Linked DNA regions of Homo sapiens: regions 2, 3, 4, 5 and 6 are each linked to region 1. Evidence: promoter capture Hi-C in human tissues and cell types (Jung and others, 2019). All regions are on one chromosome and are shown on one strand. Each heading gives the region's core, a stretch centred on a gene start or on the middle of the fragment in contact. The rest is flanking DNA. Distances are from core to core; before and after follow the strand shown.

Region 1 (4,636 bases), core at 568-3,067:
GACAGTAATGCTTTATTGCCCACATCTCCCATAACTGGAAAAGGGGAGCTGCTCTCCTTTAGGAGCACTGGACAGACTGCCTTGGGGTGTGGGGTGCTGTCTGATTAGAGAGAGAGCAGCTCTTGAATGGGGGAGGAAACACCTCCACTGTGACTTTTTGCACATTGCATTTGCACAAATTACTCTCTGAAACAGTCTCAAAGGACCATGTCATTTTATAAAGCACTGTGGTCATTTGAAAAGATGGAGGTAGACTGAAATTTTGAATTTTGGGGAATTTTCCTACACTATGCATACTTGTGAAGTTTGTATTGTTAAATTTCATTTGATTTGACAAATCCGTGTTAAGAGTATACGATGTCCAGGTACAGAGGCTGCCCCAGAAACAAGACAGAAGTAGGCAGGGACCCATGGCTCTCATGGAACACGCTTTTGGTTAGAGGCAACAGATAAGGGTAATACATTTATAGCATGCCAGTAAGTTCTATAGTACGGTGTGTTGAGTAGGTGTTGCAGAGAAAAAGGTATGCGGTGAAGGCCGGGTGGTGACGGCCTAGGCCACACTGAAGAGGCAACATTTGAGCAAAGACTGAAAGAGCAGGTGGGAAGAGTCGGGGACAAGAGCCGCCAGAAAGTGTTTCCGGGGAGGGAAGAGTCAGGGACTCTGAACCAGGCCAGGGCAGCTGGAGTGGAGTGAGAGGGAGGGAGGGTCTGGGAGTATGGCGGGGTGACCGGAGGCAGAGCAAAGCACTGCAGGACTTCAGCTTTACTGAGTGAAATGGGCGGAGCAGAGTGTGAATGTGATCAGACTTCTTTTCAAGGGATCATCTGCAATGCTGGAAAGGAAAAGACAAATGATAGATTATTGCAACAAACAGCCAGGCAAGAGATGCAAACTTTTTTTGCAAAGGTGTGTGTGTATATACATCCTTGCACCGGACAGCCACGAAGCACCTACTGTGCTGTGAAGTCAGTAAGGATGTGGGTTAAAATCGCTCACCTCACAGCGGGTCAATCGGGAAAGCACACCCACTCACTACAGCCATTATGGGAAAAAGGGCTCGCCCCTTACAGGATCCTCAACTGTGGAGAGGCCGGGAGCCCACGCGGGGCGCTGGGGAGTCTCTCAGCACCCCAGGGGTTCGGGCAGGGACCTGAGCCGCGCCCTCTCTCCCGGGGGTGCCCTGGGGTCGAGGCTGCTCGGCAGAGCCGGCGGTCAGTTCGAGCCGCGGGCCCGAACAGGGCTCTCCCCGCGGCTCTCTCCCTCGGAGTAGAAGGTGCTGGACCCGAACTCCAGCGGAGCCGCACAACACGTGGAGGAAAAGCGCCAGGACAGCTAACCTTCCCACCTTTTCAAACCTGAAACCCGGCCGGCTGGGGACGGTTGGAATGTTCAGTGCGTACCCGCACCTCAGGCCCCTTGTCTCCAGCCCCAGACCGCCCCGCGACCATCCTCCCCACCCCCCGACCTCTTATCTCGTCCCCGCCCTGTCTCCCCAACCTCCATCCTCCCCTCCACAACCCCCGTCCTCCCGCCCTTCGGCCACGCGCGGCTGGCACAGAACAGGCAGTTAGCGCACACACACTGGAACAGGCGCCACCGTTCAGGAAGTCTCTACAAGACCAGGACCCTGAGGCCTCTGGAAGTGCCGGGACCGAACCAACCCCGCAGAGCGACTAAGGCGAGGGCAGGAGCCAAGAGAATCGTAGCCGCGGTCGCGGGTTGAGCTCCCACCACCCGGACAGCGCGCCTCGGCGATCGCGCACGCGCCACGCCCCGGAAGAGTTCCTGGGCCCGCGACGGTGGCCCGGAAGCAGTCCCCGGTGTCGGGGCAGGAGGCACGCGCGCGGCTGAGGCGAGGTCGCTCGGCGCAGCTGTTGCGGGGCCATGGCGGGGACCGCGCTCAAGAGGCTGATGGCCGAGTACAAACGTGAGTCTGGGGACCCGGGCCGTCAGCAGCGTCCCGCGTTCCTGCTCCCGGGCCCGCGTCGTCCGGCGGGGCTGGGGCAGGGAGCCTGGCGGGGGAGCCGGGCCCGGGGCCTCCACCGTGAGCCCCCCTGTGGGTCCCGCGGAGTGCCGCGCCCTGCGCCCGCTGCCCACTCTCACGCGTGAAGTCGTGAAGAGAAGCCTTCCCAGCATCAGTAAAGGCAGCGCCGGCGCCGTGTTAGTTGAGAGCACACACAGTTGAGTCTTTGCGGGCTTGTTTTTTTCTCTTCTATTTTTTCTTTTCTTGGCAGCCTTGAGAACGTGCAGTGAGAGCTTGAGGAAGAAGGCCTGACTTGCTGCTGCGGAATTAGGAGGGAAAAGTGTATGCGTTAAAAGGGGAAAGGCTCGTTGGTGGAGCTTTGAAAGGTCAGATTTTGGCTTTCCCTCTAATGAAGGAAAAGGGTTTTTGAACAGTGCCACCTGTCACTCCTCCTAGGTAGTGTTGAGGAAACCTCTTGAGTGCTTTCCTACCCGGTAAATTAGATATTTCTAATGTCTGAGGAGAGCGAAGGGAGAAATGAGAACCTAGGAACACTCGGCATTCCATCGTTTTACACCGAATGCCCGCTTGGAAGAACTGCTGCGAGAAGTCTTGGAATACCATTGTGTTGAAAGCGCCAGGAGCCTGAGTCGCCGATGGAGACGAGATAGTAGCCGGCTAAGAGCAGGGCCTGAGTTCAGACCCGGCCTCTCTGCTTGTTAGCTCTTTGACCTTGTTCCTCTCTCTGTCTCTGCAGTTTCCTTGTCTTAAAAGGTTAAACTTGATACTGCAGGTGAAGTGCTTAGCAAAATACCTGATGTGTAACCCTTAATAAAGTTAGCTGCTGCTTTTGTAATTAGATTGAGGATAATTTTGGAAGAAAGTTAAGCTAAAAGAATGAATGTGAGAAAAAAAATAAGTGGTGAATATACATGTAGCTTGATTTCGTAAAACTATTGGTGACACCGCCCAGTAAGAGTTGATGTTTGGCTTAAGCAGACCAAAACGTTGCAAATACAGGCTCACTCACGTATGGTCATTCTTCCCTTGGTATCTGGAGGGGATTGGTTCCAGGCCCCGCTGCAGATACCAGAATCCTCGGATGCTCAAGTCCCTACTATAAGGTGGCGTGGTATTTGCATTTAATGTATGCATAGCCTCTCATAACTTTTAAATCATCTCAAGGTTACTTATAGTACCTAATGCAATGTAAGTGCTGCACAAATAGTTACACTGATTTTTTTTACTTGTATTTTTAAATCGTCATTTTTTATTGTTATTTTTTTCAAATATTTTGTATTCCTGGTTGGTCGAATCCATGGATATGCAGCCGCAGATACACAGGGCCTCCTGTAAACGTTCAAATAACGCTCGCCACCTAGTGTCTGCTAAAGCAGAACATAAAGGCACACCTCAGTTTCCCGCGCGCTTTGCTTTATTGAGCTTCACTTCGCAGATCTTGCATTTTTTACAAGTTTACAAGTTTTTTACAAGCAACCCTGCATGGAAGCAAGTCTGTTGGCACCATTTTTGCTCGCTTCGTGTCTCTCTCTTACATTTTAATCTATTACTGTGATCTATGATCAGTAATCTTTGATGTTACTATTGTAATTATTTTGGGGCATCACAAACTATGCCCATAAAAGATGGTAGTCCTAATAAATGTTGTGTGTGCTTCACTGACTGGCTGTTTCCCCATCTCTCTCCCGGCCTCTCTCTTCCCTGAGACAAAACAACATTGAAATTAGGCCAATAGTAACTGTACAGTGGGCTCAAGTGTTGAAGTGAAGAGTTGCACTCTACCCACTTCAAATCAAAAGCTAGAAATGATTAAGTTTAGTGAGGAAGGAATGTTGAAAGTCAAGATAGGCTGAAAGCTGGGTCTCTTGTTAGCCAAGTTGTGAATGCAAAGGAAAAGTTCTTAAAGGAAATTAGAAGTGCTGCTCTGTTGAACACAATGAATGATAAAGTGAAAAAGCCTTACTGCTGATATGGAGAAAGTTTTAGTGGTTTGGATAGAAGATCAAACCAGCCATAACATTCCTTTAAGCCAAAGCCTAATCCAGAGCAAGGTCCTAACTCTTCAGTTTTATGAAGGCTGAGAGCAGTGAGGAAGCTGCAGAAGAAAAATTGGGAGCTAACAGAGGTTGGTTCATGAGATTGAAGTAAATAACCTGTCTCCATAACAGAAAAGCACAAGGTGAAGCAGCAAGGTCTCCAGAAGATCTAGCTAAGATCAAGATGAAAGTGGCTCCTAAATTAAGCAATAGATTTACAAGGTACGTAAAATAGCCTTATACGGTATTGGGAGGAGATGATGCCATATACAACGTAAACAGCTAGAGAGAAGTCAATGACTGGCTTCAAAGGACAGGGCGACTCTTGTTAGGGGCTAATGTCGGTCACTTTAAGTTGACTGAGTTGAAGCCAGTTCTCATTTATCATTCAGAAAATCTTAGGGCCCTTAAAAATTATGCTAAATCTACTCTGAGCTCTAGAGATGGAAAAACAACCTGGATGACAGCACATCTGTGTACAGCATGGTTTACTGAATATAAGCCCACTGTTGAGACCTACTGCTCAGAAAAAAAGATTATCTTCAAAATACTATTCCTGACAGTGCACCTGGTCACTCAAGAGCTCTGATGGAGAGGTATAAGGAGATAAAT
Region 2 (4,636 bases), core at 1,353-3,852, 240 kb after region 1:
GGTAGAATTTGGCTGTGAATCCATCTGGTCCCGGGCTTTTTTTGGTTGGTAGACTATTAATTACTGCCTCAATTTCAGAACTTGCTATAATCTATTCAGGGATTCAACTTCTTCCTGGTTTAGTCTTGGGAGGGTGTATGTGTCCAGGAATTTACCCATTTCTTCTAGATTTTCTAGTTTATTTTGTAGAGGTGTTTATAGTATTCTCTGATGGCCGTTTGTATTTTTGTGGGATCAGTGGTGATATCCCCTTTATCATTTTTTATTGCATCTATTTGATTCTTCCCTCTTTTCTTCTTTATTAGTCTAGCTAGTGATCTATCTATTTTGTTAATTTTTTCAAAAAACCAGCTCCTGGATTCATTGATTTTTTTGAAGGGTTTTTCATGTCTCTATCTCCTTCAGTTCCGCTCTGATCTTAGTTATTTTTTGTCTTCTGCTAGCCTTTGGATTTGTTTGCTCTTGCTTCTCTAGTTCTTTTAATTGTGATGTTAGGGTGTAGATCTGAGATCTTTCCAGCTTTCTGATGTGGACATTTAGTGCTATAAATTTCCCTGTTAACACTGCTTTAGCTGTGTTCCAGAGATTCTGGGACATTGTCTCTTTGTTCTCATTGGTTTCAAATAACTTCTTGATTTTTGCCTTAATTTCGTTACTTACCCAGGAGTCATTCAGGAGCAGGTTGTTCAATTTCCATGTAGTTGTGTGGTTTTGAGTGAGTTTCTTAATCTTGAGATCTAATTTGATTGCACTGTGGTCCGGTAGACTTTGTTATGATTTCAGTTCTTTTGCATTTGCTGAGGAGTGTTTTACTTTCAATTATAAAGTCAATTTTAGAATAAGTGCCATGTGACACTGAGAAGAATGTATCTTCTGTTGATTTGGGGTGGAGAGTTCTGCAGATGTCTATTAGGTCCATTTGATCCAGAGCTGAGTTCAAGTTCTGAATATCCTTGTTAATTTTCTGTCACATTGATCTGTCTAATATTGACAGCAGGGTGTTAAAGTTTCCCACTATTATTGTGTGGGAGTCTAAGTCTCTTTGTAGGTCTCTAAGAGCTTGTTTTATGAAACTGGGTGCTTTTATATTTGGTGCATATATATTTAGGATAATTAGCTCTTCTCATTGAATTGATCCCTTTATCATTATGTAATGCCCTTCTTTGTCTTTTTTGATCTTTGTTGGCTTAAAGTCTGTTTTATCAGAGACTAGGATTGCAACCCCTGCTTACGTTGCTTTCCATTTGCTTGGTACATTTTCCTCCATTCCTTTATTTTGAGCCTATGTGTGTCTTTGCAAGTGAGATGGGTCTCCTGAATACAGCACACTGACGGGTCATGACTCTTCATCCAATTTGCCAGTCTGTGTCCAGCTATTATTTCTATGAAATAATATTTTTCCACTGTAGTCTGACTTTGCCAGGTAGTCCTCCAACAGAGCCCTTAGCCATACTCATCAAAGGTCAGAGGCTTCAAACCCTGCAGCCTATGGGCCCCCACCAAGCACTCAGTGGACCCCTGGCCTAATTTTGGAAAGCCCTGCAGCCTAGAGCATCATCAGAGCCTCTGCCTTTGCCATTTCAAAGATTTAGTAGAAAATAGCGATCATAGAGTGAGGAGATGAGGGATCCATGATCAGAACTTTGGGGGCTTACTAGCGCACAGGTATGGTCCCGGGCACAGGCATGGGCTGATACACACAGGTGTATAGGTATTTGTGAGACAAGGCTCTGCAATCAGACCCTTTTATTTGTACATTTACTATGACAATGTCCAGGAGCCAACAGTAGAACTAATACATTCTGATGACTTTCTGGCCCATAAGGGAAGAGACCTTGGAGCTCCCAAGGACACCATTGCAGGTGATGTTGCCCGAGATGTGAGAGGAGAAGGTGTGAACACTATTGTGCACACCACCGGGGGAAGGCCCCATAACAGTTCAACGTGAAATGAAACAAAGGTGCTTGCCCCTCATCTCCATCCCTACTGTGCTGGGCCTGCAGCTGCCTCCCTGCTCCCCTCTGCGAGCCAATCTCTGCCCAGGAAGACACTATTCCCTCACACCTGCCCCAGGGCTCACCCCCAGCAGAAATATGCCCCATGGTTCCCACTGACAACCAGCAGTGTCAACCCACAGGGTGGATCTCGCCGTGTGGCCAGGCCAACTGAGCATCTTCAAACTTGTCCACAGCAGAACACATCTCTCCCTTTCCTCAAGGCCCAGAAACTGAGGTTCTCCTAACCTCATCCCTCCTTAGGTGTAGAAGTCTTTTTTTAAGTGCAAACTCCTCCTGGGATGGAGCAGAGGGCTGTCAATTCCAGAATATCTCCTAACTGCCACTGTCCCTGCTTCTGCAGTGTGCTTTGATGCAATCAATATATTTCTACTAGTTTATCTCTGTGGACAAGCCCACATTAGGGAAGCCCTAACTCCAGTCAGGAGCCTCACAAACCAGAACATCCACAAACAATGAACCAACACTACTAACACAACAGTGCCTACAACAACAACAAGGAAGAGGAAGGCTTCTCGAAGCCAGGCAGGGGCAGCACAATCAACACAGAGGGGTATAAAGGTTCCGACCACTCAGAGGCCTGGCACGATCACTCACTCACTCCCTCACTCACTCCCACACTCACTCACTCACGTCTCCCCCAGCTCACCTCCTCCCCACCCCAGCATGGCCACGTCTACCATGTCCGTCTGCTCCAGCGCTTACTCTGACTCCTGGCAGGTGGACGCCTGCCCAGAGAGCTGCTGTGAGCCCCCCTGCTGCGCCACCAGCTGCTGCGCCCCGGCCCCCTGCCTGACCCTGGTCTGCACCCCAGTGAGCTGTGTGTCCAGCCCCTGCTGCCAGGCGGCCTGTGAGCCCAGCCCCTGCCAGTCAGGCTGCACCAGCTCCTGCACGCCCTCGTGCTGCCAGCAGTCTAGCTGCCAGCCAGCTTGCTGCACATCCTCCCCCTGCCAGCAGGCCTGCTGCGTGCCTGTCTGCTGCAAGCCAGTCTGCTGTGTGCCCGTCTGCTGCAAGCCTGTCTGCTGCAAGCCCATCTGCTGTGTGCCCGTCTGCTCTGGGGCTTCCTCTTCATGCTGCCAGCAGTCTAGCCGCCAGCCGGCTTGCTGCACCACCTCCTGCTGCAGACCCTCCTCCTCCGTGTCCCTCCTCTGCCGCCCCGTGTGCAGGTCCACCTGCTGTGTGCCCATCCCCTCCTGCTGTGCCCCTGCCTCCACCTGCCAGCCCAGCTGCTGCCGCCCGGCCTCCTGCGTGTCCCTCCTCTGCCGCCCCACGTGCTCCCGCCTCTCTTCCGCGTGCTGCGGCCTCTCCTCAGGCCAGAAGTCCAGCTGCTGACGGGCAGGTCCCGTTTCTCCAGAGTTGTTCCAGGGCCATCTCTGACTTCCGAAAATCCTTGCAGCCCTGAGCCCTGTCTGAGTCTCCTCTGCCCATAGCCACTGCACCTCCAGCCAGCAATGCTGAGCTTTCATGCCGATTCCCTCCAGGCATGCATCTCTCCCACACCCTCATCTCCATGCTGGCCAGCCGGTGGTCACTGTGTCCTGCCCCATGTGAGTGATCAGTCTGTCAACAAATAAAGTCACCAATGTGCCCTCTCAGAGGTCTTTTTTGCATATCTGGCAAACCCTGTGGGAAGAACTTCAACGTGCCGCGTGGGGTGGGAGCTTCGGGACTCTGGCCTTGAGCTGCATCCAGGCTGACAGCACCAGGGGCGGAGGCAGTCCTGACTTCCCGCTGTGCGGGGTCTGCTGTTGTGGGGTTCTCCTGCCAGCCTCAGCGTCTCCAGGCCCCGGGGGTGCTTCTCTGTGAATCCCCCACACCCACCCGGCCCGGCCTCTCCCTGGGCTCAGCTCCTCCCCCTCTCTCCTTCCTCTGCCTGTCTGACCCCCACTCATCATCTTCTCACCAGCCCTCTCTTATTAAATAAAATAAATATTTCTCATTCCTGGAAGACATTTTAGAGCTGATCTCTTATTTCAAATATCTGTGCACGGTCATCCCAATGCCTGAAGTCTCTGTGGGTCCATTTCAGCTTTCTGTCATTTCCACCAGTTCTCGCTCATGGTGTCGTTTCCTTGTGTGCTTCACTGTTTGCAGCTGAGTAACCACCTTTGTCCTTGGAAAGTATTTGTGGGCATTTTTGAGGCCTCTAAGACAGGTGTGTTTTCTTTTGCCTTATGTGAGGAACCCTCTCATGTAGCCGACAAAACCTATGGCAGCACCTGCAGCTTTGTCACCAACAGGAATGAGATGCGTGGCGTCACATTATGCCGGCCGCAAATGCTCAAAACCTCATTCTGGCCACTGCTGTTTCATAATTATGGTAGCGCGAGATGCACCTGCTGGGTCCCACCAGGCACATGCTCCCTAGGGAAGTACATGCTATCTCACCAGTTCACTTTTTCATAGTGTAACAGCAGTGTTTTCATGAAGTTGGTTTCCTTTTACTTATCTGAAAACCTCCAAAGCTTTCACGAGGTGGCCGGGAAGTTCCCTTGTGCAAAAAGGGCAAAGACCCCTGTCTTTGATTTGGGCCTGTAATCCTGTAATTCTTTATTCCTTTTCCAGTTTCCTGTTGCAACTAGGAAGATTCTTCCTAGTGTTTTCAATTGTTTTCAGCAGGA
Region 3 (4,636 bases), core at 1,261-3,760, 220 kb after region 1:
GCCTGCACTTTTGGGAGACTGAAACGGATGGATCACTTGAGGCCATAAGTTCGAGACCAGCCTGGCCAAAATGTCCAAACCCCATCTCTACTAAAAATACAAAAAAAAAAAGAAAGAAAGAAAAATAGCTGGATGTGGTGGTGCACACCTGTAATCCCAGCTACTCGGGAGGCTGAGGGAGGAGAATCGCTTGAACCCGGGAGGTGGGGCCTGCAGCACCACTGCACTCCAGCCTGGGTGACAGAGTGAGACTGTGTGTCAAAAAAGAAAAGAAAGAAAGAAGGAAGAAAAGAAAGAAAGAGAAAGAAAGAGAGAAAGAAAGAAATTGGTGTGATCATTCAATTGTCCGTGGAAACTGCCATGGTGGCCCCCAGTGAAAATTTCCATGATCCAAAAAGACACGTCTCCACTGAGCGCAGGGCGTGGACTTAGATCAGGCACACTGAGACCCTGGAGCTGTTGTGGGCACAGCAATGACTGTGGAAAGACACTTTGGACAGTGATGGGTGGTCCAGACACCAGGAGAAGGGAGCGACAGAGGGCGTGGATCACAAATAGGAATAAAGAGACAAGGAATCACCACACCCATTCGATTAAGGAGGCTGCCAGAGATAGCGATGGGAAAACTAAAGCAAATTATCATACAGGCCCCAGGGCTTGTCCCAGAAGCCATGTCAGCCTTACCACATCCCGCTGGCTCAGGACCACCTGCCTCCCTGCCTGCCACTCAGGAAGCACGCACTCTTCTGGGAGCTGTGTGACAGAACGGAGCCATGTATGGCCGTGAGGGAAAGGAGTGAGAGCTCGCGGTTGTCAGGTTCACTGCCGGCCAGCTGTCCTCTTTCAAGGTTACTTATCTTCTCTCATCATTTCTGCAACTGTCAAAATGGGCTGCAGAGTCACCCCTCACGCGGTGGCTGATGTGGAGACCGCACCTGCGCCGTGCATGTCTGTAGCACACCCGCTGATATGACGTCATCCTAGCCTTCCTGGCTTTCCTGTCATTTCCTGAAAGGAGCATCGAGTCCTTCAGTCCCAGAAAGTGGGTTAAGCACACAGTTCTCGCACAACCTCTACTAATAATCACTGAAAGGATATTCAAAGAGTTATAAAAAATAAAATCAAAATTGTCTAACAAAAAGGGAGGCTCTTTAAAATCCTTTATATATTTGTAGAAAAGAGAAACAGATGGAAACAAATTAGAATGTAAACTGGATCAGGACCCCAATGCCCTGGAATAAAATAGTCTTTTACTCAGAAAATCAAATGAACTGCCACCAATGAGCAGAGCTTAACTGATGTCCAGTGAAACGAGGGGAAAAACGTTTAAATGCTCAACATAACATCATTACAGTGAGCCAAAAATGTATTTCATTCATCGTGAGACAAAATTAAAGTCACAAAAGGAAAGACCTTGAGAGATGAGTTATTTTTAAGAGCGCAAAACACTTCCTGAGTCTCCACATTGAAAGGCTCAATGAATTCTAACCACAGAAAGTAAAATAATGCACACGCATAGAAACAAAAGAAGAATAAAAAGAAAACCAAATGTTCCCAGAGAGTTAAACGGAGAGAGAGAGACAAACTATAAAAAATGACAAATGACCAACCTCAGTCTCTCATCAGCAACGCTGGACACTACAGAAAAATGGTGACACAGGTTCATCATTTTGAGAAAACAGATTTTTTGTTATTATTTATAATAATAATTCTGACTTAAAACCAGAATTATATACCCAGCTAAACTATCATATAAGTGTGAGGGTAAAGTTGAGTACATTTTTAGGCAAGAAAGAAATCTTAAAATGTATGTCCTAAAATCACCATATGTGAAAAAGTACTTGATCTGTCACCATGAGGAAATAAAAATGGAGAAAACCCAGAGCGCAGCTTCAAATAAAACAGAGAGAGGGCTCTGAGGGTGGCATGGAAGAGCTGAAGAGACAAGGATAAAGCACAGATCCACCAGATACCAAATCTCTGAGCATTCCCCTTACGAGGCACAAGGGGTTGAAGAGAGGGCCACTTAGCTTCATCGTACCCTCTGTGCCAGCTGCATTTTATAAGAAATGCATATTTTTCTACCTATTTATATTTTAATATGCTAAAAGTAATAAAATATATCCAATCAGTCCAAACACAGGATAGGTGAAACTAGAATTCCTCCCTTTAGAGAAGTCTTCATCTCTAAAACCTCTACTCAACAAAAGTTTGCTTGAAATATTTTCCACCACATTTCTGGGGCTAAAATAAGAACCGATGAAGAAACACGGCCCTGCAACATACACACAAGTTTAATGAGGGAAAAACAAACAGATAAACCAGCATGAATGACGCATCTCCAGCCACCAGCTCTAAACACCAACAAGGAAGAGAAGCTTGTGGAGCCTCCTGTCGGGACAACACACGCCAGGGAGGGATTTAAAAGCCCCACAGCCCTGAGCACCTCACTCACTCACTCCCTCCTTCACTCACTCACACACTCACTCACTCACACCTCCCCCAGCTCCCAGCTCACGTCTTCCCCACCCCAGCATGGCCGCGTGCACCATGTCCGTCTGCTCCAGCGCTTGCTCTGACTCCTGGCGAGTGGACGACTGCCCAGAGAGCTGCTGTGAGCCCCCCTGCGGCACCGCCCCCTGCCTGACCCTGGTCTGCACCCCAGTGAGCTGTGTGTCCAGCCCCTGCTGCCAGGCGGCCTGTGAGCCCAGCCCCTGCCAATCAGGCTGCACCAGCTCCTGCACGCCCTCGTGCTGCCAGCCGGCTTGCTGCGCCTCCTCCCCCTGCCAGCAGGCCTGCTGCGTGCCCGTCTGCTGCAAGCCTGTGTGCTGCCTGCCCACCTGCTCTAAGGATTCCTCTTCATGCTGCCAGCAGTCTAGCTGCCAGCCAACTTGCTGTGCCTCTTCCTCCTGCCAGCAGTCCTGCTGTGTGCCTGTCTGCTGCAAGCCCGTGTGCTGTGTGCCCACCTGTTCTGAGGATTCCTCTTCATGCTGCCAGCATTCTAGCTGCCAGCCGACTTGCTGCACCTCCTCCCCCTGCCAGCAGTCCTGCTACGTGCCTGTCTGTTGCAAGCCTGTCTGCTGCAAACCCATCTGCTGTGTGCCCGTCTGCTCTGGGGCTTCCACTTCATGCTGCCAGCAGTCTAGCTGTCAGCCGGCTTGCTGCACCACCTCCTGCTGCAGACCCTCCTCCTCCGTGTCCCTCCTCTGCCGCCCCATATGCAGGCCCGCCTGCTGCCTGCCCATCTCCTCCTGCTGTGCCCCTGCCTCCTCCTACCAGGCCAGCTGCTGCCGCCCGGCCTCCTGCGTGTCCCTCCTCTGCCGCCCCGCGTGCTCCCCCCTGGCCTGCTGAGGCCTCTGCTCAGGCCAGGAGTCCAGTTGCTGATGTGCACATCCCCCAGGGCCAACTGGTCCTGACTCGGGTTAGGAGGTTGCCCCCGCTTGGGACGGGGCCCCCATGTGCTGAGGTGACCCCCCCCTCCATACTCCCAGGAATCTCCATCCTCGAAGCTCCCCAGCTCCTGCCTCCCAGCAGGGGCCCACCTGCCTGTTGGGTCCCCTGTCCTCCCTCCCAGCTTCTCTGCCCCATGTCACTTGGCCTCGACTTGAACCTGTCAGCACCTCCTCCTGCTCCCCAATAAACTCCCCTTGGTCGCCTGATTCTCTTTTTCTGTAGTGCTCCTGGGGATACATGGTTTTGAGCTCAGATTGGTCTCTAGCCATGACTGTTTCTATGAATGAGTGACTTAACCTAGAAGTCACGGGGGACAGTGGCCTAACTCCTCCAGGGGGTCACCAGGTGGAACTCACAGCCACGCCCAGGAAGGCTCAGTCCCGGCTCAGCCTCCATGCCTGGGTCTTCCTGAGCCTGGTCATTGGCTGCCGTGCCCTGGGCTGTGGGGCTCTCCAGGCCCCAGGACTGTCCCACCCACTGTCCCACCTGGGAGAGCCCACCCTGCAGGGTCACCTTCCAGGAAGCTGGCCTGGGGTCCGGGCACCGCAGCCTCCAGGCCTGGTCACCCTCCCTGTGTGCCGCCCGCCCGAGAGTTCTGCCCGCTTAGCAGCAATGCGGGGGGAGAGGGAGGGGCTGCTGCACCTGCGCAGGAGACAAGGGACTCGATCAGGACGAAAGCATCATGGAGTGGGTGGATGGATGCACATGATTCCCCAAAACTGGCACTGCCCCAGGCCCTCCTCTGGGGGCACCAGGTTCCGCATGGGCTTTCAGGACCCAGAGTCCGCACCTGCAGGACCGTGCGTCAGGCCCCTCTTAGGTGAGGTTGACATGGGCGACACTGGAGGGCACAGGTGGACAAGGCCCTGCTGAGACCTGGGGGATTTTCTGGGGGGATGGCCTTCCAGGGGCTGCGGTGGTGGCTGGAACTGTTTTAGTAAGTAGGCAACTGTCCCCAGTGGGTAAATTTTCAGTTACCCTCCCTGCAAGGCCATCTCAGGGTCAAGGCGTGGGTGTTCCTCCATGAGTCCCCCTCTCATCCCAGGAGTCTGTGTCCATGGCCAGAGCCCACCAAGGGCATCCCTGCCACCCGTGAGGCCTCAGCCTCCGTCCCCTAATCCCTAGCACCCTCGCCGACACTGTGTCTACCCCACGGTTTTCTGGAAAAGTTTGGGTTAGATTG
Region 4 (4,636 bases), core at 609-3,108, 210 kb before region 1:
CCCCAGAGTCACCAGCCTGGCTGCTGTTTCTGCAACGCCCCCACCACGCCCCACCACCATCAAGGCCCCTCTGCCCCTGCCTTCACCTCCCCAGGACTGGGGCCTCCATCTGCTTTCACCTCCCTGGGCTCCCAGGTTCAGCCCTCCAAGAGTTGCTGCAGCTTTACTCTTTCTCTTCCTTTCACTACAGATGCGTTCCCCCCTCAGTTCCAGGTGTGCGTTGGGGACAGAGACAAGGGCATTGCCCAGGCTGCCATCCTTAAGAAGTCTACGTGGGAAATGGGTAACCCACAGGAACAGACTTGGGTCAGTGGCAGGCATGTCCCATCCAGACACCTCTTCCCCAGCTGCTCCCTTCGGGCTCAGGTGCCGCCTCCTCTCTGCAGCCTCCTGCCAGGACCTGTCTGCCGGAGCTTCCTTCGCTCAGCCCTGAACCCCGCCCACCACTCCCTGCAGGCACAAATCCCTGATTTCTGTCCATCTGTTCCTTGCCTCTGAAATGTCACCATTGGGTGTTAAAGGGTCTGGAGGTGACCTGAGGCAGGTGAGATAGGGGGACCATGAGGGGGCCACTCCTCAGCCCTGTGCTCTCTATTCTGCCCCTAAGAGGAGCTAAGGAACAGTTCTTTGGTCTGATTGTGACACTGCATCCTGTGCTTTCACTGTGTGGTGGGCTGAGTGATGGCCCTGGAATGTCCGGGCCCCAATCCCTGGAAAGTGACCTCACCTGGCAGGAATGTTTGCAGGGGGGACTCAGTGAGAGGCCCTGAGACGGGGGATTATCTCGGATCATCCGGGTGGGACTGAGGCGCCTCTGGTGTTCTTAGCAGGGGAGGTCTGCCCCACCAGACCACGTGTCACCAGCGCTGTGCTGCTCTGCTGGCCACGAGAGGGAGGCCAAGGGGGCAGCGCGGGGGCTGAGGCGGCAGGAGCCTCGAGGAGTCCTGCAGACACCTTACACCTTTATTGTGCCCAGTGAAACCACTTTGGACCTGGAGCTGTGAGAACGTCCATTTCTGATGTTGCAGCTGCCTGCTCTGTGGCGATTTGTTGCAGCTGAAGCTCGTGCAGCTCGGCAGTGGCGTGGTCTGTGTTTCTCGGGTTGTGTGGCCCCCATTCCTGCTGGAACCGGGGCAGTGAGCCGAGGTGCTGGAGGCCCTGGGCGGGGCGGTGTGTGGTCCCCTCAAGGCTGCCCGGCTGTGAGGACCAATGTCTGCACCACCTCTATCAGCCGGCCCTCCTGCGGCAGCTGGGGTCGGGCGGGGTGTGGGGGGCGTGAACACAATGGGCCAGAACCCAGGTGTGGGCTCGAAGCTTCTGTGGGGCTGCTCCATGCGGGTGCTGTTCCCAAATAATTATCTGGTCAAATGTGACGCGGTCCTGCAGACTTGGCATACTGGGCAGAGCCTGACAGGCTCACACACTTTGAGCAGAAATCCCTTTTTCAGAAATTGCCTCTAAGGAAACGCCACGCGTGGGGATTCAGACGTGCAATGAAAGGGGCTTGATGCGGCTGCTCCTCAAATTTTGGTGGATTTGGTGGGAGGCACCACCCCACCACACCTTCTGGTGCGTTCCCTGTAGGCCGCTGTCCAGACAGACGACCTGGCCCCAGGGTTCCAGGCAGGGTCGGGGCTCACCGATTGTTGCTGGAGAGGTTGGAAGGAGGGGTGAGTGGGGCTGCCCCTCAGTGCCTTGGCCCTGCAGCTAGAGGTCACACCCTGGCTTCGGCGTTGGCAGTGGGTCCCACGCGGGCCTGTGCCGGCCTCGCCGTGCGGGCACCCCTCTGCTGGGATGGGTCTCAGCAGAGATGGAGAATATTGTGCTGTTGAGAACACTAAACGTGTTAGCTGTCGGTGAGACTATAAGTGATTCCTACCATTTTCTTCATGTATCTTTGTATTTCTAGATTTCCTACAATAAACATGTATTAAATTACTATTCTAGTGAAAGAAATAAAAGACAGTAGACTTCCACTTCTAGACAAGATGGAGTGACAGGGGCTGAATGTACTTATCTGCCCAAAACAACTAAATAAGAGACAAGACTATTGAAACCAGGGTCCTCAAGGCAATGGGCATCAGACAAAAAGGAGCCGTGACCCGAGAAATGGGACACGGACGCGATGAGCCCTCTGAGGGCCCGGCCGACCTCCCGGAGAGAGTTTCCAGGTCACAGTGCTGGGAGGTGACGCAGGTGGAGCCAGGGATCTCCTGAGTTGAGGACGCTGAGAGTCGGGGAGACCAAGGCAGCCACAGCTTGCAGGGCAGAGGGTGAGAGAGGGGAGCTGCACCTAGCGAGAACCCTGGAAAGGCACAGAGGGCCCCTGAGAGGCAGCAGAAGGCTGATGAGCAAATTGAATCTGTAGTTAAAAATCTTCCCCTCTCACATACAAAATAACCCCGGGCTTAGACGGCTTCACAGGGGAGCTCCAGCCAACATTTAAGAAAGAGCTAATAGCAATTCTACATAAGCTCTTCCAGAAAGTTGAAAAGCAGGGATTTTTCTCAAGTCCTTCCAGGAGGCCAGCATGATCTTGATATGAAAACCAAAGACATTACAGGAGAAGAATATAGGAACAAGCATCCCCCTTTAGAAGTCCTAAACAAAAGCTTACTAAATTGAACCCAACAACATATTAAAAAGATGATACATCATAACCAAGGAGAATTTTCCCCAATATATCAGGATTGTCTTAAGGATTGAACACGTAAAAATCAATTTAAGTCACCATATTAACAAACTGAAAGAAGAACAATGTGATTGTCTCAATAGACACAGAAAAAGCATTTGACAAATTCCAACATGCATTCTCAAAACACTCTTGGCAAACAGGAGTAGAAGCAACTTCTTCAACCTGATAAAAGGCATCTCTGAACACCCGACAGCTGACATCACACCTACTTGTGAAAGACTGAGTGCTTCCCCTGAGGCCAGGAACAAGTCAGGGACAGCACTCTCAATGGTCCCATTCAGCATTGCACAGGAGGTTCTAGTCAGGGCAATTAGGAAGGAAAAAAGAAAATGAAAGGCATCGTTATTGGGAAGAAAAGAATAATACTGTCTTTATTTGCAGAAGACAAGTTCATCTATGCAAAAAAATCTAATGGAATTCACGAAACAAAAAGCTGCTGGAGCTGAAGAGTGAGCATCACAAGGTTGCAAGGTCAAGATCAATGCCAAGAGTCACTGCATTTCCATACCCCAGCAACGGACAGCCAGAAATTAAAATGGAAAGAACAACACACTTGTCGTAACATCAAAATTATGAACTAGGGATAAATCTGATAGAAGGTGTGAAAGTCTTGTACACATAAAATGAGAAAACATTGCTGAGTAAACGAAAGAGGACATAAGAAATGAAAACTTACACCATCTTCATGGGCTGAGACTCCATGTGCGTAAGACAGAAGTTATCCCCAAATTGATCTGCACATTCAGCAAAATCCCAACTGAAGTCTCAAAAGGCTTTTTTTTCGAAGAGGATTTGACAAACTCATTCTAAAATTCACATAGAAAGGCAAAGGCCCTATAACAACCAGAACATCGTTGGAAGATAAGAGCAAAGTTGGAGGATTTACACTAGCTGATTTTTAGACTTTATAAAGCTGTAGTAACCAAGACAGTGTGTTTATAAAATGCTCAGAAATAGAGCCATACACACATGGACAATTGGTTTTTGACAAAAGACTCTCAGTGAAGAAAAGAGGGTCTTTTCAACAAGCAGTGCTAAAACAACGGAATAGCCACATGGAAGAGGGAACATTGATCTATACCCCAGGGCCATATAAAAAATGAACTCAAAATGGATTATAGATCTAAATGTAAAACCTAAAACTATAAAACTTCCAGAAGAAAACATATGAGAAAATCTTTGTAGGTTAGGCAGAAATTTCTTAAATTCAACGCCAAAATAAATGAATAAACTAGAATTCATCAAAATGTAAAACTTCTGCTCTGCAAAAGACATGTTTAAGAGAATGAAGAGATTGGCAACAAAGCAGGAGAAAATATTTGCAAATGATGAATCTGATAAGACTCCAGCATGCCTTAAAGAACTCCCAAAATTCAATAATAAGAAAACTAATAACACCATTAAAAAATGGGCAAAAGTTTTGAATAGAAAATCCCTCAAAGAAGACATAGAAATTCAGATCAAAACACAAAAAAAAGATGATCGACATCATTAGTTACCACGGAAATTAAAACCACCATAAAATGCCACTGTCCACACATTAAAATGGCTAAAATGAAAAAGACTGACAGTATCAAGTGTTGATGAGGATGTGGAGTGTCATGGTTGAATGTCTGTGTCCCTCCAAAATTCGTATACTGAAGCCTTAGCCCCCAGTGGGGCTGTATTGGAGATGGGCCTCTAAGGAAGCAATTAAGGTAAAATGAGGTCCTAGAGGTGGGGCCCTGATCCAATAGGATTAGTGTCCTTATGAGAAGAGACACCAGAGAGTTTGCTCTTTTTTCTCTGCATGTGTGCACTTGTGAAGGCCCTGTGAGGATACAGCAAGGAGGTGGCTGTCAACAAGCCAGGAGAGAGCCCTCACGGGGAATCAAATCTAGCAGCACTTTGGTCAGGGACTTCCAGCCTCTAGAACGGTGGGAAAATTAACTTTTGTGGTTT
Region 5 (4,636 bases), core at 1-2,500, 160 kb before region 1:
CCGGCTACTCAGAAGGCTGAGGCAGAAGAATCGCTTGAACCCAGGAGGTGTTGCTTGCAGTGAGCCAAGATCGCACCACTGCACTCCAGCCTGGCGACAGAGCAAGACTCTATCTCAAAAAAAAAAAAAAAGAAAGAAAATGAACAGGCAAGTCACAGTCTGGGAAAAACATCTGTAAAACACATATCCAACCAAAGACTGGACTCTAGGACAAAGAACTCTTAGAGCTCAATAATAAAAAGACAAAAAGCCTCATGAAAAATGAATTTCACTGACGCTGAAACACAAATGGACAGTAAGCACATGTAAATGCTCTTTTGGTGGCAACGGAAATGAGTACCACCGTGAGATACCATTTCATGATTACCAGACGGCCGAGGCTGAGGAGACGGCAGGCCATGTGTTGGCAAAGCTGAGGGCCAGGAGAACTCTCACAGGCTCTGGTGGGAGTGTGAGTGTACAACCACTCTAGAAAAGCGTCTGGCAGCTGCTTATAAAACTAAACATACACCTACCCTATGACCCAGCATTCCATTCCTCAGCACTTACCCAAGAGAAACGAAAACATGTCCACAAAAAGACTTGTAAAGAATGTTCAGAGCAGCCTTATTCACAGTAGCTAAAAATGGAAAAAAGCCCAGGTGCCCATCAGCAGGAAAGTGAGTAACAAATGGTGTATTCATACAATGAAATACTTCTCAGCAATCAAAAGGCATGGACTGCTGCTACATGCAGCCTGGATGGGTTTCAAAACCATTACGCTGAGCAAAAGCAGCCAGATGCAGAAAGAGTGCATCCTACATGATTCCATTTATACAGAGTCTAAGGCAAGAAAAGCTCAACTGTGGACGACAAAGGGTGACACAGCAGTTGTTACCTCTGGGGCCAGTGGGAGAGGTAATTGACTGGGGGGGTGCGTGACTGTCGGGGAATGGTGGTGATGGTCCATAACCTGAACAGGATTTCAGCTGCACAGGTGTCTACAACATTTGTCAGCAATCATTGAATGGCACACTTTAGATTTGCATTTCATTTTATGTAAATACAATCTTCAAAAGAAAAAGAAAAAAAAAGAACCATGAACTCTAGCAGAATTATTTGGGGTGGAGTGTACTGATGTCTGCCATTTACTTTGAAACGCATTTTTAAAAACCCATGTTGGTAGATGGACAGAAACTGCTAGATGAACGGTTATGTAATAAAGATTGTAAAATCTGTGTGGTGGGTACAGGGTATTCCCTATAAAATTCTTCCCACTTTCCTAAATAAAATTTTTCATAATAAAATACAAAGTAAAAGTAACTTGGGAAATGTAGCTAAAGCTGTATTTAGAGATAACTTACAGCCTTTCACTCCTGAACAAAACATATACAAACAGATAAGCAGAGTAACTGAAACCCAAAGAAAGCTAAAACGGGAGTGATCAAAATAAAAACAAATAATTTTGAAGACAAAAGAGTAGAATTGGTTATTAAATACATTAATTATTAAATGGAAGAGACAAAACTTCTTAATTTAATCAGAAATGAAGGTGGAGATACAAATAAAGAACGATAAAGAAAACAGAATATTTAATAAGAAGGCAACTAACATATGAAGATTGAGATCTGACTAAATTTGATCATTAACATTATTTAGAGACAAGGACCCACTCTGTCACCCAGGCTGGAGTGCACTAGTGCAATTACGGTTCACTGCAGCCTCAAACTCCTGGGTTGAAGCGATCTTCCTACCTCAGCCTCCTAAGTCGCTAGGACTAGAGGCTCAGAGGCATACACCACCTAATCTGACTAATTTTTACATTTTTTGTAGAGACAAGGTCTCGCTATATTGCCCAGGCTAGTCTGAAACTCCTGGGCGTAGGTGATCCTTCCATCTCAACCTTCCAAAGTGCTGGGATTACAGGCATGAGACACCATCCTCAGACAAATTCGATCATTTTATGAGTGGCCAAAATTGACTCAAGTTGTGAAAAAACAAAAAAAAAGGACCAAGTGCCATGGAATAAAATTTACACATCATCAAAGAATTACAGCCTAGAAAATCAGGGTCCAAATGGCCACAGTCCAGTAGCCCGTCCAAATCCACTTTCACAGCTATGCTAGGAACTGTGAAAAAGAAAATGGAGGAATGAATCATTTCCCTAAGAAATATCCAAAAAGGGATAGAAACCATAAAACTAATAATCACAAAAGAAACTGACAAAGTTTTCTAGGTCCTACCTCTGAAAAACATACATTTTCTTTAAAACCTCCAAGGAAAAAATAAAGCAGATAACATAAAAAAGAAAATATTCCAAATTAATTTCACAAAGTCAGCAGAATCACACTAAAAAGATAACCGAAAAATACAAAATAATTTTGACGAGAAACAATCTTAGAAAAACACTGGCAAATATCCAGCATCACGAAAAATAAGGAGATACTCCAAAACAACCTGAGTGGGAAGTGTGGCTTTCAGCCTGCGGAGACGTGCAGCTGGGAGCACGTGGCAAGGCTGACCTCAGAAAAGAGGGAGCCACAGGCCTGAAAGGGTCTGGGGACACCAGGGGCCCTGCCCACACCCACGCCGCTATGCGCAGACACTGTTTTCACCGCGGGCAAGGCCTGGAAGGATTTCACATACCACTGCAGGCACTTCTGAACCATAAAAACTCCACGAGCACAGGTTACTTCCACAATAAAAAATTTCACGGTGGGGAACAAAAATAGGTAATTTTTACAAACAAGGAGCCGAGAGCAGCAGCTTCCCAAGGCCGTCCTCCAAAGGGAGGCAGCCCAGCTCTGCAGGTGCCCACACGGACGGGGTGGCAGTGCCATCCACAACAGGCCAGACCAGCTTGGCCATGCTGCCAAGTCTTCATGGCCAACCTCTCTGTGCCTCCACTGTCCTTCGGCCCCCACAGCAGCCTCTGAAGTGTCTTGGGTGATCCCCTTGGGCACTCCTCGGGGAGTGTGGCTGATGTAGAAGGCCAGATGTGAGGCTGTAGGAATAGGAGGGCCCACGGGATGGGACTTGGGCCGGCAGCTGCCTCAAGACGCAGGCATGGACTTACTCTGCAACCATTGCTCACGCCTCAGCTTCATTTTCTCCTTCTTGGGCAAAACGGTCTTGGCCTCTGCACCTGAGGAAAGAGAACACGGGAGTGAGCAAAACGTGTCCAGGTGGCACTCCCATGACCTGAGAATGGGCTGGGGCGGGTCCTGACTGCAGAGCTGCCACAGTCACTGCAACTGGTCTGGCCTGTGCCAGCCTCTCAGACTCCCGGCTCTGGACAGCACCAGGGGCACCTGCAGCATGCCTCGGCCCGGCCTCAGGAGGCTCTCTCAGCAGCGTCCCCCCGCAGTGATGGCCTGGCCACTCACCCCAGCCTGCCCCGGAAAGCAGGTGTCCCAACAAGGAGGCCTCCTCCCCACTCATGCCCCGAATGACTGTCAGGGCAGTCATTGCAGTGAAGCCATGCAGGAATGCCCGACGGCTCATGAAGGGGGCCACGAACAGGACAGAGGCCCTTAGGGGGACATCCCCAAGATCCTGTGTGGTCACGTCAGGCCCAGCGACGTACGTGCTCCCTGCCCCCTGCCAGGCCCGACAATGTGCTCGGTGACCAGAGGCTTCATCCCTGGACCCCACAAAGCGGCCCTCTCAGGGAGCCTCCAAAAGTGAACTCCACAGGTGCCCCTGTGCTTGGTCCACGCGGAGCCCAGCCACCTGCCCGGTGGGCGGGGAAAGGAGGCTCATTTGCTGGGGGGACAGGGGCAGGGGTGGGATGAGCCTGCAGGGCCGTGCAGGTGGGGACAGGTGGAGAGGGCACTGGGTGCTGCGTCTCTGACTCCAGTTTGCTCTGAAACAGAGTGGACTCAAGGGCACCCCCATTTCCTCGGCCTTAACTGATTTCCCGAGACGGTTCAGCCTCGGCTGCATTCTCCCCAGAACACATCTCCCAGTATCTCTTTTAATTCATGCAGACCTTCCTGGCTTGTCCAACAAATCCACCATGTCTAATGAAAAACAAAGCAGAAGCAAGCCCTGCCTGGAGAAAGGCAGTCGCTGCGCTCTGCATTTCAGACTTCACTTCAGGAGCCGGTGTGAAACCTCCAAGGCCCAGGGCTCCCGCAGGATTTAATCCCCTCCCACAGCTTCCTGGTGTGCCTGGGTTGACCTACTTTCCTCCATAGCATCCCAACCTCTCCCTCCCGACCACAAAGGGGAGGGGCTGATTTTGCAGCTTTTCTGTAGTTTTGAAATTGTTTCAAAAGAAAAATGAATCTAAGACCAGTGGAAACTGACCCGAACAGTGACCTGTGTTGTGTTGGAATGAAGAAAACGAGGCCTGGGCGCAGGCCAGGTCAGGAACACAGCACAGTGATCCTTCCCGGCTCTGGCCCCAGGGAGCTCCCCAGCCCCATTGCCATGGCACCAGGACAACAGGAACCAAACACGCTGCTCCTGCAGGAGGAGAGGGCTTGGAATGCTGCAGCTGGAGCAGAGGCCGCCTGGAACTGCTGGCGGCGGCCCCACGACCCCCAGCTCCCGCCGCTTTCCGGGCCCAAGGCGCCCTTGCTGAAGTGCTCCGGCACAGGTTCACGCCTGCTCCCCCTTCTAGCCTCTGGATGGGCTGACGGGTGTTCACTGA
Region 6 (4,636 bases), core at 658-3,157, 150 kb after region 1:
CCACTCTTGTCAAGAAATTAAAACCTTAAACTAAATTTAAATCTATAGCTACTCCTTCATCCAACTGGATGGGAAAGAGGTTTGTGGTGTTGATAAAAAAAGCTTTTAAGGAATTAAAGTGAGCTTTACTCAGAAGTTTTACCGAGGACTATAGAAGAGTGAGGTTTCTAGCCGGGGGCAGCTCTGTCAGAGATTCCGGCTCCGTGTTTCAGCTCACACCAGCCCGGGGGCAGCCCTGTCAGAGGCTCCGCCCCGGGTTTCAGCTCACAGTTCATATGCAGGTGGCGGGAGGTCAGCACGTGCAGATCACATGAAACTGGCTCAGAAGCTGCATCAAAGCAGAATCACATCCGGGTTTGGGGGCAGGAGCACATCTGGTTATGGACCGCAGAGGCATCATCACTCGCCCTATAAGACGTTATCTTGTTCAGGAAAAGGCAAGGACTAGCATCATTTATCTTTCTTTTTTTTTGAGATGGAGTCTCGCTCTGTCACCAGGCTGGAGTGCAGCGGCGTGATCTCAGCTCACTGCAAGCTCCACCTCCCAAGTTCACGCCATTCTTCTGCCTCAGCCTCCCGAGTATCTGGGACTACAGGTGCCCGCCGCCACGCTTGGTTAATTTTTTTTGTATTTTTAGTAGAGACGGGGTTTCACCGTGTTAGCCAGGATGGTTTTGATCTCCTGACCTTGTGATCCACCCGCCTCGGCCTCCCAAAGTGCTGGGATTACAGGTGTGAGCCACCACACCCCGCCAGAAGACTCTACATTTTAACCCTATATTTGCAGGTTGATGATTCTGAGTTCTGACTTTTCCTTGATATAATTTAACTATTTAAAAATGTGTACAAGAATGGGCCATGATATGTAGTCAACTGGAGTCCCAGAAAACCTGGCACGCCTTAATGTTTGAGAATCCCAGTTTTGGCCATTTCAGTGTTCAATCTCCTTTAGCTAACCCCTTACTTCTAGAAAGATACTTGCAAGTATAGACTCTGTATGGGTTACACATGAAGCCATTCCTACCTAGTATCTTTCAACGAGGAGAATTCCCCCTTCGTAAGACATAAAAAGTCTCACAGAAGAATGTACCCCTTCAGCAAGAAGTAAAATGAACTAACTGAATACAACTCAGGACTCTCAACCAAGTGGGAGGTCAGAGACTCAGGAGAGAGTCACTCAGTCACCTGTAACCATGGAGGAGCCGTGGGGGCTCAAGTGGCCTGTGCTGGTACCGGGGTGCTGGGTCCCCGCAGTGTTCCAGACGTCCCTGAGCAGTCCACTCTGAGTCCTATCTGGGTCACTGTGATTTTCATCTAAGGAAAAAAATTAAACTTTTAGAGAATGGGGCCCGGTGCGGTGGCTCACGCCTGTCATCCCAGCACTCTGGGAGGCCGAGGCGGGCGGATCACGAGGTCAGGAGATCGAGACCATCCTGGCTAACACAGTGAAACCCCGTCTCTACTAAAAATACAAAAAATTAGCCGGGAGAGGTGGCAGGCACCTGTACTCCCAGCTATTCGGGAGGCTGAGGCAGGAGAATTGTGTGAACGCGGGAGGCGGACCTTGCAGTGAGCCGAGATCGCGCCACTGCACTCCAGCCTGGGCGACACAGTGAGACTCCGTTTCAAAAAAAAAAAAAAAAAAAAAAGAAAGTTTTATTCAGAAGTCTTACTGAGGCCTAAACTGCTCCTGGGCTATATAGGCCTCGGTCTATAGTCCTCAGTAAGACTTCTGAAGCAAACTAACTTTCATTTTTTAAAAGCTTGATTTTTTTCCCCTTAGTCCATAGAGGTGAACTTCTGTGGCCAGCTGAGTATGGTCGCCAATGATGTCCACATCCTGGTTCTCAGAACCTATGAGTGTCACCTTTTGTGGCAGCAGGGACTTCACACGTGTGGCTAATTAAGGGAACTTAATATGTGTGGACCATAAGGTGTGGCTAATGGGAGAGTACCCTGGATTATCCAGGTGGGCCCAGTGTCTCCACAGGGTCCTTATCAGAAGGAGGGAGGAGGACATTTGGCCAGAGGAGAAGGTCATGGCAGGTGTGAGTGAGATGCCTGCTGCTAGCCCTGAACCAAGGGCTCGAGCCATTTCCAGAAGCTGAAAGAGATGAGGAAAGATTCTCTCCTGCAGCCTCCCGAAGGAACCCGCCCTGCCCATGCCTTGATTTTAGCCCTGTGAGACCCACAGCAGACTTCGGACCTCCACTGCTATGAGATGATCCATTCGTGTTGTTCGAAGCTACTAAGTTTGTGGCCACAGGACACACATCCAACTTCTCTGTCTCACAGCCTGGTGTTTCTACACACTGCGTGGTCTTGCCAGCCACAGCCGTGAGCTGTCTGGGGCTGTGTGGGGGAGGCAAGGAGAAGAAAAGGGGAGGAGAGACAAGTCTCCTCTCTGGAGACCTGTGGTGACTGGGCTGTCACTCTCTCTGCTTGCCAGGGCTTCGGCCTCACTCTCCCGCTCGTGGCCTGTCCATTGTGGGAGCTTTTTCCCTGTGGCTCCCCCAGCCTGGAAGAGGCTCTACTCTAGCTGGTGCCAACAGCTTCCTTCTGCCAAGACCTGTCCTCTCCCCAGGTTCTACTGCAGAGCCTGAGTCCACCCCTGGTGCCCCCTCCCTGGTGGGGCGCCACCTGGACCTGGGGGACCATCAGGGAGTGTCACCCTGTCCTCCCCCAGAGCATCTGCAGATTCCGGCCTCAGACTTCTTGGGTGTGTCAGAGCCAAGCCATGGTTGTCCCCTCTTCAGAGGACTCCGTCCACCTCTGGGGATCTCTGTGGCCTGTCCCTTGGCCTGTAGGAGGTCACAGGCCCCAGGCACTTCCCTCAGAACTCCTTTCCCAGCCCCCAGCCCCATTTCCCTGGACTCTCCACCCTCACTGGGGGCTGGAGCTGGAGGGCGTGTTGACATCCGGGGGCTGCTGTGACAGAGTCCCACGCCAGCTATGTGACATGGCAGAAGCTCACATCTCACGGTTCTGGAGGACTGCAGTCCGAGGTGAAGGCGTCAGTGGGGCTGGTTCCTTCCATGGTGGTGAAGGAGAGTCTGTCCCCATCTGGGGGATGACTCTGTCCTGTTTTCTGGGCCTGTTGCCTTCTTTGGTGTCCTTGGCCTGCAGGGGCATTGCCCAATCTCTGCCTCCGTCATCACGTGGCCCCAATCTCTGCCCCCGTCGTCACGTGGCCCCAGTCTCTGCCGCCGTCGTCACATGGCGTTCTCCAGGTGCCCGTTCGTGTGCAAATTTTGCCTTTTTATAAAAACAGAAGTGGTGTTGGCTCAGGGTCCCCCACTAATGACTTCACTTCAACTTGACTACATCTGCAAAGGTCCTGTTTCCACGTAAGGTCATGTTTACAGTATGAGGGATCAGCATCCAACATATACCTTTTCTTTCTTTTTTTTTTTTGGAGAGGGTCTTGCCTGGTCACCCAGGCTGGAGTGCAGTGGCGCGATCACGGCTCACTGCAGCCTTGACCTCCCAGGCTCAAGCCGTCTTCCCACCAAAGTAGCTGGGACTAGAGGTGCACACCACCATGTTCAGCTAAATTGTATTGTATTTTCTGTGGAGATGGGGTCTCACTGTGTTGCCTGGGCTGCTCTCGAACTCCTGGGCTCGAGTGGTCCTCCCTCCTCGGCCTCCCACGGTGCTGAGATTACAGGCATGCGCCACGTCTGGACCAACATGTCTTTTTTTAAGGGGACACTGTTCAGCCCAGGAAAGAGGTCGGTGCAAAGCCATGAGAGCAGCCTGGGTTCCTCTGTGCGTCAGTGGGCTGTGGCGTCTTTCATCGTGGTTCCTTGGGAAGGAAGAGTCCACTGAGAATCCGCGTGGCTGGGCCTCTTCAGGACACAGCCCAAGCCCACTGCACACACAGGAAGGCCCGAAGCTGGGCCTGAGGGTGGCCTGGCTCCCATCCAGGCATTGAAGCTATTGCAGAAGGAGGGAGGCCTGTATGGGGGATGCCTGCACTAATTCCAAGAATGGGAAGCTTGGCCCCCAAAACCGAGGGCTGCCCCGACAGAGCCAGCTTGGTCCCTGTGGCATGCGTGTGGGCCACACGGGAGAAGGGGTGTGGGCACGTCCTGGGTATGAGTGGGATTTGCCTGGAGGGGGTGCTGTCCTCAGTAGAAGGGGGCTGTTGGCACACGTGGGTAGCGGGGGAGCCGTTTGGGAACCAAGAAATCAGCTAAGAGGAGCACCAGCCAGTGTACCCCTCCTGCTGAGAGGCCCATATCTAGAAACTTCCGTTACCAGGATGCCCTGTATTGATGAGCATGTGAGGTGCAGGGGGACTCCTTAGAAGGCCTCCTCCACAGACCGCTGCTCATCCCTCCTCCCAGGCCAGCAGCCTCGCCTGGGGCTGTGCTCTCACCCTTACAACTGGGCGAGGGTGTCTGCAGGCTGGAGGGTCTCTGATCACACCCTGACGAGCATGCACCAACCATGTCCTCGCCTTACAGACACCCTCCCCCGGTCCCCAGGAGCCGTCCGGCTCTGTCCAGCAGGCGGTGGAGGGAGCTTTGCGGTTTCCTGTGGTTTCACGGGATGCCTTTGCAGGCAGCAGCTGCCCCTGACTCAGTGGGTCCCGCATCTCCCTCACAGACAGGAGGGGCACCCCGGGACCTGG

Evidence for each region. The method cuts DNA at HindIII sites, captures the fragments that hold promoters and counts their contacts. A contact is called where the count stands out against the background at its distance.
Region 2: a contact is called between the fragment with the promoter of KRTAP10-3 here and the fragment with the promoter of UBE2G2 in region 1, in 1 of the 25 tissues and cell types used here (thymus).
Region 3: the fragment with the promoter of KRTAP10-5 here is called in contact with the fragment with the promoter of UBE2G2 in region 1 in 1 of the 25 tissues and cell types used here (lymphoblastoid cells).
Region 4: a contact is called between a fragment that was not itself captured here and the fragment with the promoter of UBE2G2 in region 1, in 2 of the 25 tissues and cell types used here (dorsolateral prefrontal cortex and mesendoderm cells).
Region 5: a contact is called between a fragment that was not itself captured here and the fragment with the promoter of UBE2G2 in region 1, in 1 of the 25 tissues and cell types used here (mesendoderm cells).
Region 6: a contact is called between a fragment that was not itself captured here and the fragment with the promoter of UBE2G2 in region 1, in 3 of the 25 tissues and cell types used here (IMR-90 fibroblasts, mesendoderm cells and stomach).

Annotation. Positions count from the first base shown.
Region 1 is chr21:44,799,001-44,803,636 of GRCh38, reverse strand. It overlaps UBE2G2 (ubiquitin conjugating enzyme E2 G2), which reads left to right and starts at 1,817. Exons shown (of 6, transcript NM_003343.6): 1 at 1,817-1,931. The coding sequence starts at 1,889. It overlaps LINC01424 (long intergenic non-protein coding RNA 1424), which reads right to left and starts at 1,396. Exons shown (of 2, transcript NR_109928.1): 1 at 1,001-1,396. RefSeq lists silencers at 1,199-1,248, 1,749-1,968, 2,029-2,088 and an enhancer at 1,636-2,591. The HindIII fragment of the contact is 9,913 bases long and covers 1-4,636 here.
Region 2 is chr21:44,556,761-44,561,396 of GRCh38, reverse strand. KRTAP10-3 (keratin associated protein 10-3) reads left to right here and starts at 2,602. Exons shown (of 1, transcript NM_198696.3): 1 at 2,602-3,607. The coding sequence starts at 2,682. The coding sequence ends at 3,347. The region is part of intron 2 of TSPEAR (thrombospondin type laminin G domain and EAR repeats); the gene reads left to right. The HindIII fragment of the contact is 7,690 bases long and covers 1-4,636 here.
Region 3 is chr21:44,578,478-44,583,113 of GRCh38, reverse strand. It overlaps KRTAP10-5 (keratin associated protein 10-5), which reads left to right and starts at 2,510. Exons shown (of 1, transcript NM_198694.3): 1 at 2,510-3,659. The coding sequence starts at 2,536. The coding sequence ends at 3,351. The region is part of intron 1 of TSPEAR (thrombospondin type laminin G domain and EAR repeats); the gene reads left to right. RefSeq lists enhancers at 2,186-2,775, 2,776-3,366. The HindIII fragment of the contact is 3,934 bases long and covers 96-4,029 here.
Region 4 is chr21:45,008,617-45,013,252 of GRCh38, reverse strand. No RefSeq gene overlaps it. Among named protein-coding and RNA genes, the nearest start is that of PICSAR, 6.2 kb to the right of the region's middle. RefSeq lists enhancers at 1-303, 304-1,289, 175-1,374 and a silencer at 245-539. The HindIII fragment of the contact is 5,888 bases long and covers 1-4,636 here.
Region 5 is chr21:44,958,588-44,963,223 of GRCh38, reverse strand. It overlaps SLX9 (SLX9 ribosome biogenesis factor), which reads right to left. Exons shown (of 6, transcript NM_058190.4): 3 at 3,056-3,124. Among named protein-coding and RNA genes, the nearest start is that of SLX9, 21 kb to the right of the region's middle. The HindIII fragment of the contact is 4,593 bases long and covers 1-3,546 here.
Region 6 is chr21:44,648,993-44,653,628 of GRCh38, reverse strand. All of the region lies in intron 1 of TSPEAR (thrombospondin type laminin G domain and EAR repeats), which reads left to right. Among named protein-coding and RNA genes, the nearest start is that of KRTAP12-4, 3.3 kb to the left of the region's middle. The HindIII fragment of the contact is 1,947 bases long and covers 934-2,880 here.